Regions from separate parts of the Homo sapiens genome. Here regions 1, 2, 3, 4, 5 and 7 are each linked to region 6. Evidence: promoter capture Hi-C in 16 types of primary human blood cells and fetal thymus (Javierre and others, 2016). All regions are on one chromosome and are shown on one strand. The core of a region is centred on a gene start or on the middle of the fragment in contact, and the rest is flanking DNA. Distances in the headings are between cores, read along the strand shown. Region 1 has its middle 53 kb from the start of ZNF627. Region 2 overlaps ZNF627 (zinc finger protein 627). Region 3 holds the start of CNN1 (calponin 1). Region 4 overlaps ZNF709 (zinc finger protein 709). Region 5 overlaps ZNF443 (zinc finger protein 443). Region 6 holds the start of ZNF433 (zinc finger protein 433). Region 7 has its middle 31 kb from the start of ZNF709.

Region 1 (2,871 bases), core at 372-2,871, 380 kb before region 6:
AAGCATGGTGCCAGGCACCTGTAATCCTGGCTACTCAGGAGGCTGAGACAGGAGAACTGCTTCAACCTGGGAGGTGGAGGTTGCAGCGAGCTGAGATCATGCCACTGCACTCCAGTCTGGGCAACGAGAGTGAAACTTCGTCTCAAATAAAAAGAAAAAAAGCTAAATGTTAATAGCCTATTGTTGACTGGAAGCTTTATCAGTAACATAACCAGTCAATTAATACATATTTTGTGTGTTGGTGTGTATGTGTAAGTGTATATTAGGACAGTGTCTCACTTTGTTACTCAGGCTGGAGTGTAGGGGCATGGTCATAGCTTAATACAACTTAGAACTCCTGGGGTCAAGCAATCCTCCTGCCTCAGACTCTTGAGTAGCTAGGATTGTAGGCAAGTGCCACCATGCTGGGCTGATTTTTAAATTATTTTTTGTGGAGATGGAGGTCTTGCTATGTTGCCCAGGCTGGTCTCAAACTCTTAGCCTCAAGCAGTCCTCCCACCTCATCCCTAAGTGCTGGGATTATAGGTATAAACCACCATGCCTGGTCTGTTTGGTCTATTATATATGGTATTCTTATAATAAAGTAAGCTAGAAAAAAGAAATATTATCAAGAAAATCATAAGGAAGTGAAAACATATTGACTTGATTAAGTGGATCATCCTAAAGGAATCCTTTTCATTGTTTTCACATTGAGTAGCCTGAAGAGGAGGGGTTGGTCTTGTTCCCTCAGAGGCAGCAGAGGTTGATAAAAGTTTGCATATGAGTGGACTTGTGCCATGCAAGCCCATTTTGTTCAAGGGTCAATAATATTTTGGTGAATAAGTCAGGCATGGTCACAGTGTCCCATGAACATAGAATCTAAAATGTTTCTATAATTTTGTAATCATTTATCATGACTTTTATGGGTCTACATTTTAGGAATAAAATGGGAAGACCGGAACATTGAAGATCAGTACAAAAATTCCAGGAGAAATCCAAGGTAATTTGCACTTATAACATGAAGCTGTGTCCCTTGAGATAATGTTAGAGTGATAGGAAATTATATTTATTTACTTATGTATTCATGTATCTGAGACAAGGCTTAATCTGTCACATAGGCTAGAGTGCAGTGGCATGATCATAGCTTACTGCAGCCTTGAACCCCTGGACTCAAGCCATCCTCCTTTCTTGGCTTCCCAGAATGCTAGGATTACAGGCATGAGCCACTGTGCCCAGTGGAAATTTAAAGAACAAGCAAACAAAGTGAAGCAGCCCAGCTTCAAATTTGTTAATTTTTAGAATGTTTTCTCCAAAAATATATACTTAAATACATACACATTCATTGTTTGCAAAATAGTTGCCTTGGAAACAGTATTAAGAAATCCCATAGTGGCCGGGTGCGGTGGCTCACGCCTTTAATCCCAGCACTTTGGGAGGCTGAGGAGGGCGGATCACGAGGTCAGGAGATCGAGACCATCCTGGCTAACATGGTGAAACCCCATCTCTACTAAAAATACAAAAAAATTAGCTAGGCATGGTGGTGGGCGCCTGTAGTCCCAGCTGCTTGGGAGGCTGAGGCAGGAGAATGGCGTGAACCCAGGAGGTGGAGCTTGCAGTGAGCCGAGATGGTGCCACTGCACTCCAGCCTGAGTGACAGAGTGAAACTCCGTCTCAAAAATAAAATAAAATAAAAAAATAAAGAAACCCCATAGTGGCCAGATGTGGTGGTTGATGCTTGTAATCCCAGTACTTTGGGAGTCTGAATGGGAAGATTGCTTGAGCCCAGGAGTTTGAGACCAGCCTGGGCAATGCAGTGAGAACTCATCTCTACAAGAAATAAAAAAAATCAGCCAAGCCTGGTGGCGCATGCCTGTAGGCCCAGCTACTTGGGAGGCTGAGGTGGGAGGACTGTCTGAGCCTGGAAGGTGGAGGCTGCAGCGAGCTGTGGTCATACCACTGCATTCCAGCCTGCGCAACAGAGTGAGACCCTGTTTCAGGAAAAAAAAAAAAAAAAAAAGAATAAGAAAAAAGAAACTGCCTAGTAACATCACTGTTTTGATAATAGCTGTAATAGAGCCCCTTTGCAGAGAATTCAGTCCACTCACTGTCAGACACTTCAGACAGAACATAAAGCCTACATTTCTCATGATAATGTAAAATATGCAAATCAAATGCTTGCTAATATAAAATTATTTATCAACAAATTCTTTGTAATGTGCTTCTTATTTTTTATAGAAATCATATGGCAGAGAGACTCTGTGAATGTAAAGATGGTCAATGTGGAGAAACTTTCAGCCTGATTCCAGATGGTATAATGAACAAGAACACTCTTCCTGGGGTAAAACCATGTGAAAGCAGTGTGTGTGGAGAAGGCAACGTGGATCATTCATCTCTGAATTGCTACATCAGAGCTGACACTGGACACAAACCGTATGAGTGTCAGGAACATGGAGAGAAGCCACATAAATGTAAGCAGTGTGTAAAAACCTTCAGCTGCCTCCACTCCTTCCAAACACATGAAAAGCCTCACACAGGAGAGAAACCCTATGATTGTAAGGAATGGGAAAAAACCTTCGATTCTCCCCAAACCGTTCGAAGATACAGGGTAGTGCACAGTGGAGATGGACCTTATAAATGTAAGTTTTGTGGGAAAGCCTTTGATAATCTCAGTTTATATCTCACACATGAAAGATCTCATACTGGACAGAAGCCATATGAATGTAATGAATGTGGGAAAGCCTTTGGTTTTCCCAGCTCCTTTCATAGACATGAAAGAATGCACACCGGGGAGAAACCATATGAATGTAAGCAATGTGGGAAAACCTTTAGTTGTTCCAGTTCCATTAAAAAACATGAAAGAATCCACACTGGAGAGAAGCCCTATGAATGCAA
Region 2 (2,984 bases), core at 253-2,752, 420 kb before region 6:
GGCAAATTGTTAAGACACTGTGAAGTCAGCGTTAACCATGTGCATACAACTTAAGGAATTTTTTCCTCCTCATGTAAATTTTACTTTTCATGCTTATATAGTTTCAACTTTTATCTTCATAGTAATTTCTCATCTACTCATAATACCAAAAGTTAAGTCATGCTGTTTTGTGTGCTCTCTTGCTAAAGACCGCAGAGACCATACCTGTTGTCAAAGAGGGTGTAATAAACTGTAATAATAATCATGACCACAAACCATAAAGGACTGTGTGATGTATCAGTAAGAGGGTGCTCAGAAGAATTTCTTACAGGTTTTGTGCTTGTTATAGGTTGGTTGATTTCTATTTTTTTTTTTTTTTTGATATAGAGTGTTGCTCTGTTGCCCAGGCTGGAGTGCAGTGGTGCGATCTCAACTCACTGCAACCTCCACCTCCCAGGTTCAAGCAATTCTCCTGCCTCAGCCTCCAGAGTAGCTGGGATTTCAGGTGCACACCACCACACTCGGCTAATTTTTGTACTTTTAGTAGTGAACGGGGTTTCACCATGTTGGTCGGGCTGGTCTCAAACTCCTGACCTCGTGATCCACCTGCCTCGGCCTCCCAAAGTGCTGGGATTACAGGCATGAGCCACCGCACCTGGCCAGGTTGATTGATTTATGTTCAGGGAAGCAAGATGATTCTCTGTATTTGATGCAGTGATGAGGTAAACTTAATTCTAAACTTGGTAATCATAACTGTTCTTATCCAGAAGGGAAAAGGAATGGAGTGGAGGTAAACGTAATTCATGAGAAATACCACTCAGTCATATTAGTGAGAAGAGGGGAATTTGGGTCATGTTTATGATTTGGAACATGCTGTCTTTCACCAGTTTTAAAGACATGGTTACAGAATGCCCTTTTTTTGTCTTGATTCATCATAGCCACCTAGGAGCATGGTCTCACATTGCTGGTGTCTGACATGTTTCTCTCCAACAGCGTAAGACTTGGCCTTGCAGTGAGCGGAGGCTGGCTCCTGGACTTGTGGACCTGTTTTTGCCTTACTTATTCTCTGAACACTGAAGTATTTCCTGTGATGTACTGGACACTGTTTTCCATTATGTACCTCAGTTAAAATATGTAAATTTACTTCTTAGCAAGCTGTATAATACTTTTAAAAAGCTCCTTTACGAGTCTAATGAGACTAATATATTTATGCACATTTTCTGAATGCAAGCCTAGGAAGGGAACAAAGTCAGCATCAATATTCCAACCAAGCCTTTCTTGCTCCAATAATATGCTTTTGTTTTTGTTTTTGTGTTTTTGTTTTTTTAGACAAGAGTTTCACTCTTATCACCCAGGCTGGAGTGCAGTGGTGCAATCTCAACTCACTGCAACCTCTGCTTCCCGGTTCAAGTGATTGTCCTGCCTCAGCCTCCTGAGTAGTTGGGATTACAGGTGCCCACCATCACACCCGGCTAATTTTTGTTTCGTATTTTTAGTACAGACAGGGTTTCACCATGTTGGCCAGGCTGATCTCAAACTCCTGACTTCAGGTGATCTGGCCGCATCGGCCTCCTAAAGTGCTGGAATGGATTACAGGTATGAACCACTGTTCCTGGCATATATGCTTTTGCTTCTAATTTATCAATAGGCCTCTTATGCCAGCACTACAGAGTAAAAAGCAACATGCAAAAGTCAGCTTTTTGTCTGTACACTTCCACGGAACAATCCAATCACTTCGTTGAAGGTGTCCAGCAAGCTCTTGTTGAGAAAATCCCTGTTGAAACTTCTCAGTGTCAAAAGCCCAGGTATCACAGGATAGAGTAGCAATCAGCAACCAAACCATGACTGTATGTGGAGATGACATATTCAGCCCCAGATAATGTATTCACATGAGTGAAGGGTGGAGTCATTGCCTGTCAGATTCTACAGTCATTTGGATTAGAGAGGGCAATACAGAGTTAGGTGCTACTGAATCCAACCACTGAGTCCTTCTCCCTTGAAGGCAACACCCACAGTGATAGTGTGGGCCACAGAGTAGAAACCCCACCATCAACACGACTCCAAATGTGATTTTGCCCGGGATGCAGGTGCTGTGTTGGGATGCAGGTGCTGTGTGGGGATGACCAGTGAAGGTAGGGGACACTGGAAGCACAGGGTGAGGGAGATGAACAGGACACAGCTGAGCCTGATTATTGGCCTTGACTGTGGGAGTATCTTGATGCTTCACAAACACCCCAGAGAGGACATTGTAGCACAGGCCCAAAGAGTGTTCATAAACCAGAGGGCCACCACTTTTGGAAGGCAGTGATGTGGCTTTCTGTTTGAGTCCTGATGCTCTGTTGACAGCATACACTGTTCTTCATCTGATTAGAAAAGCAATGCCGGCTGGGCGCAGTGGCTCACGCCTCTAATCCCAGCACTTTGGGAGGCTGAGGTGGGCAGATCACCTGAGGTCAGGAGTCCGAGACCAGCCTGACCCGCCTTGGACCTATTGGACTGAACAAACGGGAGCAAACACAGGAATAAAAGACAAGAGACAAAAGAGTATATTTGGAAGAAGGGGTTGGGGGGCACCTTGCCTCTAGTGGACAAGGGCCCCGAGCTTTACACAGCCCTCTGTATTTATTAGACAAAAGAGCGAGAAAAGCGGGGGGTGATTGTTGGGTAATTGTCAGTTGGCCATTTGGTTCACACCAGGCTTGTGAGACTGCATCCTTTGGACAATAGGCACTAATTTTCTCAGTAGATAACTTCAAGGAGCCCAGTGCCAGGGAGTGATGTCCCTCAGCAAACCTTTTGGTGGCAGGGCAGTGAGTTTGCCCACATCCTGCATTCATGATAAACAGTTTGCTGTTTGATCCCATATAGACTCCTGCGGAATGCTGAGTTGGTCACGTCCCACGGGCCTTCGGCTCCCTGCATATCCCCCTTTTTGTTTATGTATTAATTGAAAGAATGTAAGGCCAGGCTGAGCAGCTCTCATTGTCCGATTGGCGGTCCATCTG
Region 3 (2,744 bases), core at 89-2,588, 500 kb before region 6:
AATAACAGTGTCCATCTCTGAGGGCGTCATGAGAATTGAATGGATATATGTACAGAGTTGGAACATGGCCTGACATAAGGGCTGTAGTCTGTGGCATATTGCAGCCATGCCATTAGCATGTGACCGATAAACTGCATATCCTCAACATATCATTAGTGTGTGGCAGGTTGCAGACATGTCATCCAAGTGTCACAAACATGGCCTTGCCATGTGGGGCATGATGTGGGCATAGCATCCACCCCTGTGGTCCAGGGGTGAGATCTGGCTGGGTAGGGCTGTTTGACAGGGACACAGTTCACGGCCTGGGACTTGCCAACAAAGTCACCCTGTAGTTCAGGTGACACACAAGTGGATGGGGAGGGTGAGACCCAGGATCTCTTCTCCCCCAGGTCCTTATGAGGGGCTGGAGGAGACAGAACTGGGGTGCTGGACCCTCAGCATAAAGAATGCTATAGGCTGGGCATGGTGACTCATGCCTGTAAATCCCAGCGTTTTGGGAGGCCAAGGCGGGCAGATTGCTTGAGCCCAGAAATTTGAGACCAGCCTGGGCAACATAGCGAGACCCCGGGCAACATAGCGAGACCCCATCTCTAAAAAAATAAAATAAAATTAGCCAGGTTGGTGGCACAAGTCTGCAATTCTAACTACTTGGATGGGCTGAGATGGGAGGATCACTTGAGCCTGGGAGGTCAAGGCTGCAGTGAGCTGTGATTGTGCCACTGCACTCCAGCCGAGGGGACAGAGTGAAACCTTGCCTTAAAAAGACTGCTATGGCCCGAGTCCCTCTGCTGTGCCGGGCACTGTGCTGGGCATGTAACAGGCATATTCTTCTGATCTTTACAACTCTCCCATGAGGCAGGCACTATCGTTAGCCCATTTTACAGATGTGGCCATAGAGGCCCAGAGAGGAGAAGGGGCTTACCTAAGGCTATAGACTGTTGGTATCTGGAGATAAACCCGGGATGGTGCTCACTAAACTACCTTGGGTGTCAGTCCTGCTTCAAGACTCCAGAGAGATAAAGAGAGATGACCTCAGAGACAAAGAGACTCAGACCCAGCCAGAGGCCCAATGGACAGTGGGAGGGGTGGGTGGAAGAAGGCTGGTCTCTGTCTGACCAAGCCCCCCCAGAATAACGCAGGCTGCCCCCCTAGGTGGAAACAATGACACAATCAGCTCCCAATACCAAGGGCCTGACATCACAAGGGGAGGGGAAGGCAGCTGAGGTTGTGGGGGGAGGTGCCCCGCCCCTTGGCAGGCCCCTACAGCCAATGGAACGGCCCTGGAAGAGACCCGGGTCGCCTCCGGAGCTTCAAAAACATGTGAGGAGGGAAGAGTGTGCAGACGGAACTTCAGCCGCTGCCTCTGTTCTCAGCGTCAGTGCCGCCACTGCCCCCGCCAGAGCCCACCGGCCAGCATGTCCTCTGCTCACTTCAACCGAGGCCCTGCCTACGGGCTGTCAGCCGAGGTTAAGAACAAGGTAGGGCTGGAGGGCCTCCCTGGCCTGGCCCACACGTCCTGCCAGGCCAGAGCCCTGAGCTTGGGGTCCCTTGAACCCCCTCCTGCCTATCCTATGTGACTTGGAAACTGAGAGGGGAAAAGGGAGTGATATGGGATAGGGGCTGCCTGTCTCCCCCTGAACATCCCGGAGCCCCCAGCTATGGTTGGGGCTGGAATGGGGGGGCACACAGCCACACATAAACAGAGGGGGTCAGTCCATTGCAAAGATACCCACCTGATCAGTCTTCTGTTAACCCTTCGTGTTCTTGGGGGGAACAACATAGGGGGAAGACTTGTTGATTTTTCCATATCCCCCGGCCTGACAAAGAAATTGGGGAGCGCTTGAGTGCTGGGGTACCTGGGAAGTGACGCCGTGAAAGTGTGGGAGATCCTGAAGACAGAGGGGGACGGTGAAAGGCAGGAAGCGGGCATCAGAAGTGCGGCAGGGGTCTCCTGACTGTGGAGCTAGGAAGATACCTGGACACCACCTTCATGCTATGGTTGGGTAAACTGAGGTTCGGAGAGGAGAGGCAAATAGCTGGGGTCCCAGGTAAAGCAGGTACAGCGCTCGGACCCTGGACTCACCCCCCATACACCAGGATGGGCTCAGCTTCTCCCAGCTGGAGAACTTTAAGTTTCCAGCCCACTGGAATCGCCCCAACAGTATTGCCGAGGGAGGAGTTCCTGCCCCATTTGACAGAGGGGAACACTGAGGCTCAGGGTGGCTTTTCCCAGGGTCCCATGGTGAGGAAGTGGGGGACTGGGTTGGAACCTGGGTCGAGGGATCTCGGGGCTGGAGGAGGGGGCTGGTGGGGGGCGGGTCCTCGGGCGAGAGACAGATCCCAGCGCCGCCCTCCTCCCCCCCAGCGCCGGCCCCAGAGCCGCGCAGAGCCGCGCAGAGACGCCGCGCCTTATAAGGCGGCCTCGGGGAGCCCGGGCCACGCTATATAAGGGCCGGTTTGCTTTATAAAGCCGGGCTGGTGGCGTGGGGGGCGGCAGGGCCAGGGCCAGGTGAGGGGGCCGCCCCTCCCACCTCCCCCCACTCACCCGGGAGAAGAAGAGGCAGCCCGGTCCCCTAGGGGCTGGGAGCCTGGCTGGGCTTGGGCGGAGGGTTCTGGAGAAATGGGAGTGGAGTGGGGGAGGGGGGGGACAGTGGAGAGAGGGAAAAGCAGGGAGGTGGGGGGAGAGGCAGACAGAGATACTGGGAGCCTGAGACACCCTAGGGACAGACGGGGGAGGGCGAGCC
Region 4 (2,941 bases), core at 341-2,840, 440 kb after region 6:
TACTCAACAGATTGTACTCAAAGTGTAACTAATGAGAGGAGAGGGGAGGAGAGGAGAGAAGAGATATAGATTGGGAACAAAGAAATATCACTGTCTTTGTCGCATGTGACATGATTGTCTAAGTAGAAAATCTCAAAGAATCCACAACAAACTCCTCAAACTAGAGGTTGAGGATATAATCTTAATATACAAAAGTCAATTGCCTTCTTACAGACTCACATTAGTATAGTATAGACTCACTGAGTCATCTGATTTTCAACAAATGACCAACAGCAATTCAATGAAAAAAGATAGCCTTTTTCAACAAACAGTGTTGGAAAAACTGAACATCCACATGCAAAACACAATGAAAAAAACACAAATCTAGAAACAGACGTTACACCTTAAACAAAAACTGGCTCAAAATGGATCACAGAACTAAATGTAAAATCTAGGCCAGGAGCAGTGGCTCATGCCTGTAATCCCAGCACTCTGGGAGGCCATGGCAGGAGGATAGCTTGAAGTCAGGAGTTTGAGACCAGCCTGGGCAACTAAGTAGGACCCCATCTCTACAAAAAATACAAAAATTAGCCAGGTGTGGTGGTGCACGCTTGTAGTCCCACCTACTCAGGAGGCTGAAGTGGGAGGAGTGCTTGAGCCCAGGAGGTTGAGGCTGCAGTGAGCCAAGATTGCACTACTGCACTCTGGCCTGGGCAAGAGGGAGAACTTGCCTCAAAAAAAAAAAAAAAAGTAAAGTTATAGGATACTAAAAGTTAATGAAGAAAATCTAGGTGACCCTGGGTTTGGTGACAAATGTTTAGATATAAGCAAAATCCATACAAAATAAATCAGTAAGTTTGACTTCATTAAAATGCAAAAGCTCCTTCTCTATGAAAGCTCTGTGTTAAGAGAATGAAAAAGACTCTAGAGCCTTTTGCGGTAGGGGGACCCACTTAAGGTGGGCCAATTTGCAATTAACAGCATAAAGTGGTTAAGTAAAATTTATAAACAAGGAATATGTTGCCTCCAGAACATCAAAAGAACCTAGAAGATGCTGTGGGTAGTCAGAGGGACAATAGCTATTTCATAGTAGTGTCAGGGATGGAGCGGCCCTCCTTTTACCAAATGGTTTTTAGGAACTTAACCAAAACATAAAGGTCTCTTATTTTATATATGGGGCAATGGACTTTTTGTAAGCTCTATTTTTTTTTTCAGTATTTATGTGTCCTGAATGAATGCCAAAACAATGTCCTCAGACAAGGCTGTCATTAATGTAATATCATACCTGTGTTCTAGAGAAAGGTGGATGCAGTTCAGATTTTGCCTGCAAAGACTGTGCAACAGCAAGGCTGTTGAGGTTCCCTTGGGAAACTAGGTAAAGTTATATAATTAGCCTGTGAGATGGTGAAATCTGTGAGATCAGCTGGATGGTGTCAGTAATTTCCATGTTGGATATTGGTATAGGGGCTTAATGGGTGGGACCACAGCATTAAGGTTATGGTAATCCATTGTGGGTTGCCATTCATTCTCTCCAAGTTTAAGAAAGGCCAAACTGTACTTTTAAAACGAGAAGCACGGGGAATAATCACTTCCTCACTAAACAAGTTTTACATAATACTTTTCAACCCTTCAAGGCCCTGTTCAATTTATATTGAGCCATCATAACTAATTTAACTGGGGAGTAAGTTCCACAGGGTCTCATTCTGTCAAGCCAGTTTGTAAGTGCCAAAGATTTAATTTAAATTTCACTTATGACTCACTGGTTTAGAGTTTACCTGTTCATTCTGGCGTATTTTAGGACACTGGGTGCCATGAACATGGGGAATTTAGGCACAGTTATGATGGCTAAGATGAGACATACTTATTTGTCTTCTATTTTATATTCAGTAACTCCCTTAAGATTATCAGGGGATACCTTGCTTAAATTTTAGTGGGTCTCCCAGGTATAACCATAATTTGAGCCCTTGTATTGGCTAATCCTATAGTGTGTTAATTAATACATTACATAAGATGTTAAAATTAATACAGAACCTATGATATAGAGGCTCTTTTATCTTTTTTGCCGTCTAAATTCCTTTAGTCTATTTGGAATTTCCAATTGGGTCAAATTGTGGACCTCTTTTTCAGCATTTTTTTCTTTTGTTCCTTTCCTTCCTAACATGTTTGTTTTGTTTTTGTTTTTGTCCCTGGATATATTTTGACAGCAAAATCCTCTCTACAGGGGAGGGGTGTTCTTTTCCCTCCAGAGAGCCACAAATCACTATTATCAGGCTTAGGGGCCTGTCCCTCATGGTTGCTTTATAAAGTTTAAGCACCTGGGCCTTAAGCTGGCTTTGAATGAACCCTTTGCAATGCTGCAGAGGAAACATGAGTGTGCCCTATAATCCTGAGGGTCAGCATCCTTGCTGCAATAGAGCAACAGCAGCAACACTTAAGGGTCCTTGGGAGCCCTGTGCTATTAGGAGTGTGGACTCGGCCCACCATCTAACAGCTGCCTTTCCCCCTCTCTTTTGTCTCTTTTTCAAAAATGACTGCTCTGGCAGGTAGTCTTTCCCATGAGCACCTTGTATGCCAGGTCAGCAGCAGTCACAGCTTCACTCTAAAACACACAGATAAGTCCAGGCCAAGAAACACTACCCAGGACCACTTTAAGGAGTATCAAATCTCATATTCCTCTTCAAAAAAGCCAAGGAATTATCAAAACGGCCAACTCCAGTTGGCTAAACATAGAACCCAGACTTGGCAGGGCTCAACATGCAGCACAGAGTAGCACAACTCAAAGTAGTAGCTTCCCAGAAAGCAGCAGCTGAAAGTGCATGCTGGCCATCAGGCAACAGAGCAGGTAGCAATTCAGTGCAAGAGAAGACAGACCCATGGGGTGACAGTCAATGTCTGAACACCATGCTCATGGTAACAATTCCTGTGTCGTTCCAATGTTGACACTAATAACAGCGTGGAGAAC
Region 5 (2,894 bases), core at 295-2,794, 390 kb after region 6:
GGCTCACTCCTGTAATCCCAGCACTTTGGGAGGCCAAGGCGGGTGGATCACAAGGTCAGGAGTTCGAGATCAGCCTGACCAACATGGTGAAACCCAGTCTCTACTCAAAAGACAGCTGGGTGTGGTGGCGCGCACATGTAATCCCAGCTACTCAGAAGGCTGAGGCAGGAGAATCACTTGAACCCGGGAGGTGGGGGTTGCAGTGAGCCAAGATCACGCCACTGTACTCCAGCCTGGGCGACAGAGCAACACTCCGTCTCAAAAAAAAGAAAAAAAAAAAAGAAGGAAAGAAAGAAAAGAAAACAAAAAACACTTAGCCTCTGTAAGCATCACTGTGAGGGGGCTGAGGAGAGCAAGAGGAAGGAGTTTGAAGCCAGTAAGTTCTGGCTAGGCTAACTATGCAACACAGTGCAGCCCAAGAACTTGAAGACCACAGGAGAATTGGCATCGGCTGATGCCAGGGAAACAACAGCATTCCTAGAAGAGCTCATAAAACAGAAAAAAGACACTACCTTCCAGAGTAAATCTTCTATTGTCATGAATCAGGCATGTTCTAGAAGATGCCCAATGGTACCTTCATACATGAGTGCAGGTACTGGGGTTCAAGGCCTGGAAAGACCACCTTTTTCTGGTGCTGTCAGGCCATGCATTAGTTCATGAGAACAAGCGAGGCTTCGTCTACTGAGCAATCACCAGGTTCTTTAGGACAAAAGCAAAACTTGCTGGCCTGTGTCCTGGCAAGAACATAAGAAGGCTTTCTTCTAGCAATGCTTCACTCCTGATGTGATGGAATACCTCAAAGAGAAGGGACTGCCACTCAAGGTCTTCCTCAGAATTGACAACACTCCAGGCCATCTCTCCAATCTCTGTTTTGCCTAAAAGAACATGCAAGTGATATTTCTGCCTCCTAAAACTACATCACTGCTGCGTCACTAGATCAAGGCATCAAGTGCATTCAAGTGACTTACATCCTTGGGTGAATTCATGGAGTCTTGATGCTAACCTTGAATGTACCACAGTGGTTTTATTGAAGAGCTTCACAATTACAAATACAATTGTGCTTATTGGGAAGGCTACAGATGCCCTAAAGCCCAGGACAGCCAATACATGTTACAAGCCATCATGGGGTAAGGGAGTCAATGATTTCAAGGACTTCCCTACTATTAATGCAGTTATTAAGAATATGTGAAATGTTGCAAAAAAAGTTGGTGGGGAACGCTGTCTGAAATGACTGAGGATGACGTTAAGGAACACACCGAAAAGCAAAGAGAAACCCTTACCAGCTAGGAACTTCAAAGTCTGCTGAAATCCACTACAGATGATGATGAGCTAGAAAACTTAGAAGACACAGAGCCATTGATTTGGACACTTGAAAAGTTTGCCACAGTTTTTCAGTAGGCAAAGGTGAAAAAGAGGTACGATCCTCAAAGATCCTATAATGGAACAAAGCTTTCAATCTACCTGAGAAACAACAACATGCCTATAAGCACCACAAGATTTTTTTTTTTAATGAAGCAAAGGAAAAGAAGAACTAGCTTCCTATAGCTAAGCATCTGCAAATAAGACGGAACATTCAATGGTTTTTTCAGTAGGCAAAGGTGAAAAAGAGGTACGATCCTCAAAGATCCTACAGTGGAACAAAGCTTTCAATCCACCTGAGAAACAACATGCCTATAAGCACCACAAGATTTTTTTTTTAATGAAGCAAAGGAAAAGAAGAACTAGCTTCCTATAACTAAGCATCTGCAAAGAAGATGGAACATTCAATGGTTACAGATCTTCAGCCCTCAAGCCAAACAGATCCTAACATTAGTATTACATAGCCTCCTCAAATGAGTCCACATCTATAATCACAAGTTGGTTCTTCCAACATAGATGATAGTCCTGATGGCCTGTCAAGATTCAAGTTAACCTGATGTCTCACTACTTACCCACAATGCCATACATCTAGTCATCTCAACACATCAAAACACTGGGCACCACAGAATCATCATCATTGTTATAATCACTATACTTGGGTTATCAAGAGAGAAGACCCAGGGTTTTGGTAAGTGTTAACACATTAAACAGAAGAAATAGGTGAGAGTTGAAACAAAGAAACTTTAATGTTCTGGCTGACTACACTATGTTGATAGGCTCACAATTACTGCATCTATACTGAAAATACATAGACTCTTTTCCTTATCATGATTCCCTAAACAATACAATAGAACAACTATTTGCATAGCTTTTATAATGCATGAGGTATTTTAAGTAATCTAGACATAATTGAGACTATACAAGAGGATGTGGGTAAGTTACATACAAACATGTCATTTTATAAAAGGGACTGGACATGGCTCACGGAGTGCTGGAACCAATACCCAGCAGGTATCAAGGGATGACTGTACTGGAAAGAAACTGAAACTACTTAAGGCTTTACCAAGTGCTTACATTCACAGGGTCTATCTCCAATGTGTTTCGTACAAGTATCTGAAATGAAATAAAATTAATAAATGCTTTCCCACATTCCATACATTTAGAGAGAATGCTAGTGAGTCTTTTTATGTCTATGCAAGGAACTGAGAGAAGCAAATGCTTTCCCACATTCCTTACATTCATATGGGTTCTCTCCAGTGTGAGTTTTTTTCCAGTGAGTCTTTTTATGTCTATGCAAGGAACTGAGAGAAGCAAATGCTTTCCCACATTCCTTACATTCATACGGGTTCTCTCCAGTATGAGTTTTTTCATGTCCTTGAAGAAAACGGGAATGAGTGAAGGCTTTACCACATTGTGGACATTCATAGGATTTCTCTCTCATGTGAATTCTTTCATGTCGTAGAAAGCAAGTGAGCCAAGAGAATGCTTTCCCACATTCCTTACATTCATACGGCTTCTCTCCAGAGTGAATTCTT
Region 6 (2,720 bases), core at 16-2,515:
TCAGACAGGCTTCACTATACCTGGACAGGCCTCATTATACCCGCTTCCTTTAGGAGTTTCCACATAGCCACTGACCCACCTTCATGTTAAAACAGACATCAGCCAACTGGAAACACAGACTCTCTGTGACAATAAGAAACCAAATTACAAACAAGACCTAAGGCCATGCAAGGCAAGAGGTAAGTCAAATCTTAGAATTCACAAAATCTAAAGAAACAGGTCTTTTGTTTTGGGTGGGATGAAATCATATGACAGATACCAGACCCTCTTCACTTAAGCAATCCTTCCTACCGCCTCGAAGTTTTAGACAAAGCTTCACACTCTCCACCAACGGCCACCTTCAGAATCCCTCAACCACCTGCACCTTCTAACCCCCCTTCCACAGGTCCCGCCCTTTCTGCCAAAGGAACTTACACCTTTCCAGGCATTGATGCATGATTCTCCCTGCAATTCCTGTCTCCCTGAAATGAATAAAAACAGTCTTGAGCCGCCTCGGGACCACTTACTTCAGGCCTCCTGGGGTTGTGTTTTCCTCAGCTGAGGCCTCTCCTATTCGGCTCTGAATAAACTTCTTTAAGTTATTTTACACAGCTTGGCATTTTCCGTTAACAAATTACAAGCCAGGACTGGGTGTTTATCATTCAGGAATCTCAAAGGAACTCTAATTATTAATATATTTTTTAAAACCTATTCTGAGAAGCAAAACTATAATTGTTAACGTGTCTCAGTTTAATTTTTAAGAGGAGAAAGGCGCTACTGGGGACCCCACAGCCCACCCTCCTCCTACACAAACCCCCACACCCGAGGCGGGATCCCCCCATGACCCTCGCGTAGTCCCCGCACAATGTGGGGAGACGCGGGGCAGCGGGCGCGGAGCTGCCCAGAGAGGGCTCTGGGAACTGGGTGACAGTCACCGCGCAGGGACAGGACGAGACGCCCGGGTCCCGGCGGCCGGCCCAGCCCCACTGTGGGGCCAAGGGGACCAAGGGCCGAGCTGTCCCACGGGAAATCGGGTCCCAGACCCCGGAGTCGCCGCGGGGAGGCCCGGGTCCCACCACAGCCGGTTCCGGCCGGTTCCAACCAGCTCCTCCCCCGCCTCGGGACCCCTGGCCCGCACGCTCACCATTTCTTGCCTTTCAGGTGACTCCCACGACCAGTGCGGGTCACAGCACAGGCGACAGAAGCTATGGCAGAGGCACCTGAACCCTCTCGGAGGGGAAAGCCAGGCTCCCAACCTCAGCTCGCCGCCTGGAGCCGGGAACCGAGGAGAGCAGGGCCTTCGCCCTCCCCGATGGACACTCGGCAGGCCCCGCCCAGCGCCCCTGATTGGACGAAGCGCCGGGCCCCGCCCCCTCAGCCGTGAGTGACAATAGAAGCCCTTGGTAACGGGGCTCTGAAAACGGGTTTGACCGGATCCAGCGATAGATTCTTTAAGCCAGAGGTCTGTAACCTTTTTAGCACCAGAACCGGTTTCGTGGAAGACAGTTCTCCTACGGGGGCAGATAGTTTCGGAATGAAACTTCCACCTCAGATCAGGCATTTTATCCTCATAAGGCGAACCCAACCTAGATCCCTCGCATGTGCAGCTCACAATAGGGTTCGGGCTCCTATGACAGACTAATGCCTCTGCTGATCTGACAGGAAGCATATCTCTGGCGATAATGCCCGCTGGCTCGCCCGCCAGCCGCTCACCTCCTGCTGTGCGGACTGGTTCCTTACAGGCCATGGACCGGGGGTTGGGGACCCCTGCCATAGAGTACTGTTGAATAGAAACTTTAGCTCGTCCGGCGGTGGGCTGGGGGGGTGGGGGTAGCTCATGCCTGTAACCCCACCACTTTGGGAAGCCAAGGCAGGCAGATTGCTTGAGCCTAGGAACTTAAGCCCAGCCTGGGTAACATAGCAAAACCCCGCCTCTACAAAAAATACAAAAATTAGTCGGGCGTGGTGGTACATGTTTGCAGTCCCAGCTACTCGGAAGGCTGAAATGAGAGGATCGCCTGAGCCCAGAGAGGTCGAGGCCACAGTGAGCTGTGATTTTACCAGCCTGGATGTCAGAGTGAGACCCTGTCTCCGAAAAAAAAAAAAAAAAAAAAGACAGGGAATTGCAGTGGAGTTTAATATACATAGAGCCGGCTAAATGAAAGAGAAGAGTTTTATTTTTATTCAATTCTGTCTCCCTAAAAAATGGGAGGCTAGGTTTTGTTTTTTTGGTTTTTTTTTGAGACGGAATCTCTCTGTCGCCCATGCTGGAGTGCAGTGGCGCAATCTCGGCTCAGTGCAACCTCCGCCTCCCGGGTTCAAGCGATTCTCCTGCCTCAACCTCCTGAGTAGCTGGGATTACAGGCATGCGCCACCATGCCCGGCTAATTTTTGTATTTTTAGTAGAGACGGGGTTTACCATGTTGGTCAGGCTGGTCTCAAACTCCTGACCTCATGATCCACCCGCCTCGGCCTCCCAAAGTGCTGGGATTACAGGCCTGAGCCCCCGCACCCGGCCGAGGCTAGGGTTTTAAAGATAATTTGGTGAGCAGAAGGCTGGAAAATGGGGAATGCTGATTGGTCGCGAAAAGGATATCACAGGAAGTCTCAGCTGTCTTCTTGCACTGAGTCAGTTCTTGGCTAGGGGCCACTGGAGCAGGTGAGCCAGTTTATTGGTCTGTGTGATGCCAGCAAATTTATCAGAATGAAGGGTCTCAAAAATACCTCAAACACCAATCTTA
Region 7 (2,908 bases), core at 190-2,689, 480 kb after region 6:
ATCAGGAATTTGGGATGGGGCAGTTGGTGCCATGGCCAAGCCATTTTCTCACCTTATCTCTTAGTCTACTCATTTTCAGCCCAGAAAAAAAAACAACAACAACAAAAACCATGCCAACGTGGGAATAAAATTAATAAAGGCATGGAAAAATTATTAAATGCATAGTTATATGGCAGCATTATTCCATAAAGGAATCAAAAGGAAAGCAAACATTTGAACTAGCTCAGGCAAGCAGGCTTCACCCACAGTTCACAAGGAACACCTGCATTCAGGTTTAACATATTCTTAATCTTGGGAGTCAGACTCTTGACTACTGAAATGGATGCCCAGGTCGATCAGACCCTCCTGATGAGGTAGGGAAACCTAAGGATTTAACTCTGGGAGCTCAACATGCCCTTATGTACCCTCCACACAGTGTGGAAAAGCTGCCTCCTTCAAGACCTTCATTTACACCTGCAGGAGACTCTTACCTGGAGTCAGTTTAACATTCTAACCTACATAAACTATCAGCTACATAAATCCTTTCTCCAAAATGAGTCTTTATCTGAGCCTGACCATGCCAGATTTACTTCACATATACAAATTACAGTTGGACCACAATGACCCTATGTATGCCAAAACAAACACATTGCCCAGAAAATAGTTAGCCTGAGAAAGGACAGAACACCCCAAGCATGTCTTCACATGAATCTTTTGCTTTCCAGGGCTCTGCTTCTCAGAATCTGCACTCCTGTAGCTGTTCTGAGCAACCAGAGGCCACCTACGGAGACAACAGGCTGCCCAGAAAGCCACATGAGGAGCTCCATTTCCCTCCCTTTGCAGGCTCCAGACTGGCCTCAGGTTGGAGTCACTGGCTGCAGGCGCTGCTGCCCACTGCAGGTTCTTCACCTGCTTCTCACCAGCACTGATCAGCTACATGAGACAAAGACTCTCTATCGTACTGTATGAGAAAGAAACCAGCAAAGTCCTACGTTTCCTCCTGTGTTTACATACAAATCAGAGGAAGAAAATCTTAAAATATTTTATATGGATTAAAACACTGGAGTGGGCGTAAGTAATGGCTTGTGCCTGTAATCCCAGCACTTTGGGAGGCTGCAGTGGGAGGATCGCTTGAGCCCAGGAATTCAAGACCAGCTTGGGCAGCATAGATTTTCACCTCTAGAAAAAAATTTAAAAACTTAGCAGTGCATGGTGATGCGCATCCATGGTCCCAGCTACTCAGGAGGCTGAGGCAGGAGGATCACTTGAGCCTAAGAGGTCAGCACTGCAGCGAGCCAAGATTGTGCCACTGCACTCCAGCCTGGGCAACAGAGTTAGACTCTGTCTCTAAAAAGATTTAAATAAATATATTTTAAAATTGGCAAATAAGCATTCCTTTTAGAAAACAAAGATGCTAGCGAACTATTATTTTCACATTAACACTTATGAAAAGAACTAATCAAATGTGAGCTCTTCCCTTTTTTCTCTGTTTCAGTGGCCACCTGACCTTCACAGTACATGGTTGTCACCAGGTGCTCTGTGGCTGGGGATGTTCATGTCCAGTTTATCCATCTGAATCTCTCTCAACCCCACCCCACCACCATTGACCCACCCAATTATTTCTGTAGCTAAACATTAAGCATTGTATAAATAACTGTCCCTTTCAAAGAGGACTCAGGTTGAATACACCTGTGATTCTCTCAGATCCTCTGATATAATCATTTGCATTTGTCTTCCAGGATAGACTGTGATATCTTGAGTAGGAACCTCATTCATTGTATTTGCTTCTGTTCCCCCAAACCTGTGTCACCACCTGATCATTGAGGACACAGAAAATTTATTTTATTTATTTTTTTGAGATGGAGTCTCACTTTTTTTTTTGAGATGGAGTCACCCAGGCTGGAGTGCAGTGGCATGATCTCAGCTCACTGCAACCTCCACCTCCCACGTCAAGCGATTCTCCTGGTCAGCCTCCAGAGTAGCTGAGATTACAGGCATGCCTCACCAAACCTTGCTAATTTTTTTGCATTTTTAGTAGAGACAGGGTTTCACCATGTTGGCCAGGCTGGTCTCGAACTCCTGACCTCAAATGATCCACCCGCCTCAGCCTCCCAATGTGCTGGGATTACAGGCATGAACCACCGCGCCCAGCCAACACAGAATATTTTAAGCTGACCATCAACCTGCTGTAAACATTGGAGATCTCAGCACAACCCTAAAACATCCACACCCCAGGGAGAGTATACAGATATTAACGTGCCCTCACTACAAGGAGCTCCACTGACTCCCTTTCTGGAAAATGACTCAAATCGGTTTTCTGGAGGACTATATGCAATTAATAGATATAAAAATAACATGTTGTTTGCTTTTATTTACATGATTTACCATTTCTGTTTGTTTTTGAGACAGGGTCTTAGTCTGTCACCCATGCTGGGGTGCGGTGGCTTAATCTTGGCTCACTGCAACCTCCACCTCCTGGGCTCAAGCAATCCTCCCACCCCAACCCCTTGAGTAGCTGGGACTACAGGTGTGCACCAACATGTTTGGCTAATATTTAAATTTTTGGTAGAGATGAGGTCCCACTATATTGCCCAGGCTGGTCTCAAACTCCTGAAATCAAGCAGTTCTTCTGATTCAGCCTCCCTAAGTGCTGGGATTACAGGCGTGAGCCACTGTGCCTGGCTGATTTAACTTTCATAGGTTGTTAAGAAAGCGATTAACCCTGTGAACCATGGTTGGATTTCACTGATTCTCAAAACTTGTAGTGAATTCTTATAATTTTATGTTGCCTTGACATCCATTTTAAATACAAGTTTAACTTTCTCATAGGAGAAGCAGGGTTTATTCACTGTTAACACTGTTTCCAGTTCTCCACCTCCTCCCAGTTCCTTAATGTAGTGAATCCATATATCTGCCTTAGACAACTGAT

Evidence for each region. Contacts are between HindIII fragments. The CHiCAGO score rates a contact against its expected background, and 5 or more counts as called.
Region 1: a fragment that was not itself captured here is called in contact with the fragment with the promoter of ZNF433 in region 6 in 1 of 17 cell types (erythroblasts); the score reaches 6.6 in erythroblasts.
Region 2: a fragment that was not itself captured here is called in contact with the fragment with the promoter of ZNF433 in region 6 in 1 of 17 cell types (erythroblasts); the score reaches 5.1 in erythroblasts.
Region 3: the fragment with the promoter of CNN1 here is called in contact with the fragment with the promoter of ZNF433 in region 6 in 6 of 17 cell types (M0 macrophages, total CD4 T cells, neutrophils and 3 more); the score reaches 6.6 in M0 macrophages.
Region 4: a contact is called between a fragment that was not itself captured here and the fragment with the promoter of ZNF433 in region 6, in 9 of 17 cell types (naive CD4 T cells, M0 macrophages, monocytes and 6 more). The highest score is 6.1, in naive CD4 T cells.
Region 5: a contact is called between a fragment that was not itself captured here and the fragment with the promoter of ZNF433 in region 6, in 2 of 17 cell types (erythroblasts and M1 macrophages). The highest score is 8.3, in erythroblasts.
Region 7: a fragment that was not itself captured here is called in contact with the fragment with the promoter of ZNF433 in region 6 in 6 of 17 cell types (total CD4 T cells, fetal thymus, M1 macrophages and 3 more); the score reaches 7.8 in total CD4 T cells.

What each region holds. Positions count from the first base shown.
Region 1 is chr19:11,649,439-11,652,309 of GRCh38, forward strand. It overlaps the pseudogene ZNF887P. Among named protein-coding and RNA genes, the nearest start is that of ZNF627, 53 kb to the left of the region's middle. The HindIII fragment of the contact is 2,859 bases long and covers 193-2,871 here.
Region 2 is chr19:11,618,879-11,621,862 of GRCh38, forward strand. ZNF627 (zinc finger protein 627) reads left to right here. Exons shown (of 4, transcript NM_145295.4): 4 at 1-283. It also overlaps the pseudogene VN2R12P. Among named protein-coding and RNA genes, the nearest start is that of ZNF627, 23 kb to the left of the region's middle. The HindIII fragment of the contact is 6,209 bases long and covers 1-2,984 here.
Region 3 is chr19:11,537,513-11,540,256 of GRCh38, forward strand. CNN1 (calponin 1) reads left to right here and starts at 1,339. Exons shown (of 7, transcript NM_001299.6): 1 at 1,339-1,478. The coding sequence starts at 1,416. RefSeq lists an enhancer at 310-1,255 and a silencer at 2,315-2,364. The HindIII fragment of the contact is 23,519 bases long and covers 1-2,744 here.
Region 4 is chr19:12,475,677-12,478,617 of GRCh38, forward strand. The region is part of intron 1 of ZNF709 (zinc finger protein 709); the gene reads right to left. Among named protein-coding and RNA genes, the nearest start is that of ZNF709, 7.7 kb to the right of the region's middle. The HindIII fragment of the contact is 6,195 bases long and covers 1-2,941 here.
Region 5 is chr19:12,427,626-12,430,519 of GRCh38, forward strand. It overlaps ZNF443 (zinc finger protein 443), which reads right to left. Exons shown (of 4, transcript NM_005815.5): 4 at 2,081-2,894. The coding sequence ends at 2,531. Among named protein-coding and RNA genes, the nearest start is that of ZNF443, 12 kb to the right of the region's middle. The HindIII fragment of the contact is 194 bases long and covers 1,448-1,641 here.
Region 6 is chr19:12,034,414-12,037,133 of GRCh38, forward strand. ZNF433 (zinc finger protein 433) reads right to left here and starts at 1,266. Exons shown (of 4, transcript NM_001308348.2): 1 at 1,124-1,266. The coding sequence starts at 1,126. ZNF433-AS1 (ZNF433 and ZNF878 antisense RNA 1) reads left to right here. Exons shown (of 3, transcript NR_134929.1): 2 at 1,141-1,359. RefSeq lists silencers at 801-920, 931-980, 1,221-1,380. The HindIII fragment of the contact is 7,472 bases long and covers 312-2,720 here.
Region 7 is chr19:12,514,290-12,517,197 of GRCh38, forward strand. No RefSeq gene overlaps it. Among named protein-coding and RNA genes, the nearest start is that of ZNF709, 31 kb to the left of the region's middle. The HindIII fragment of the contact is 8,614 bases long and covers 1-2,908 here.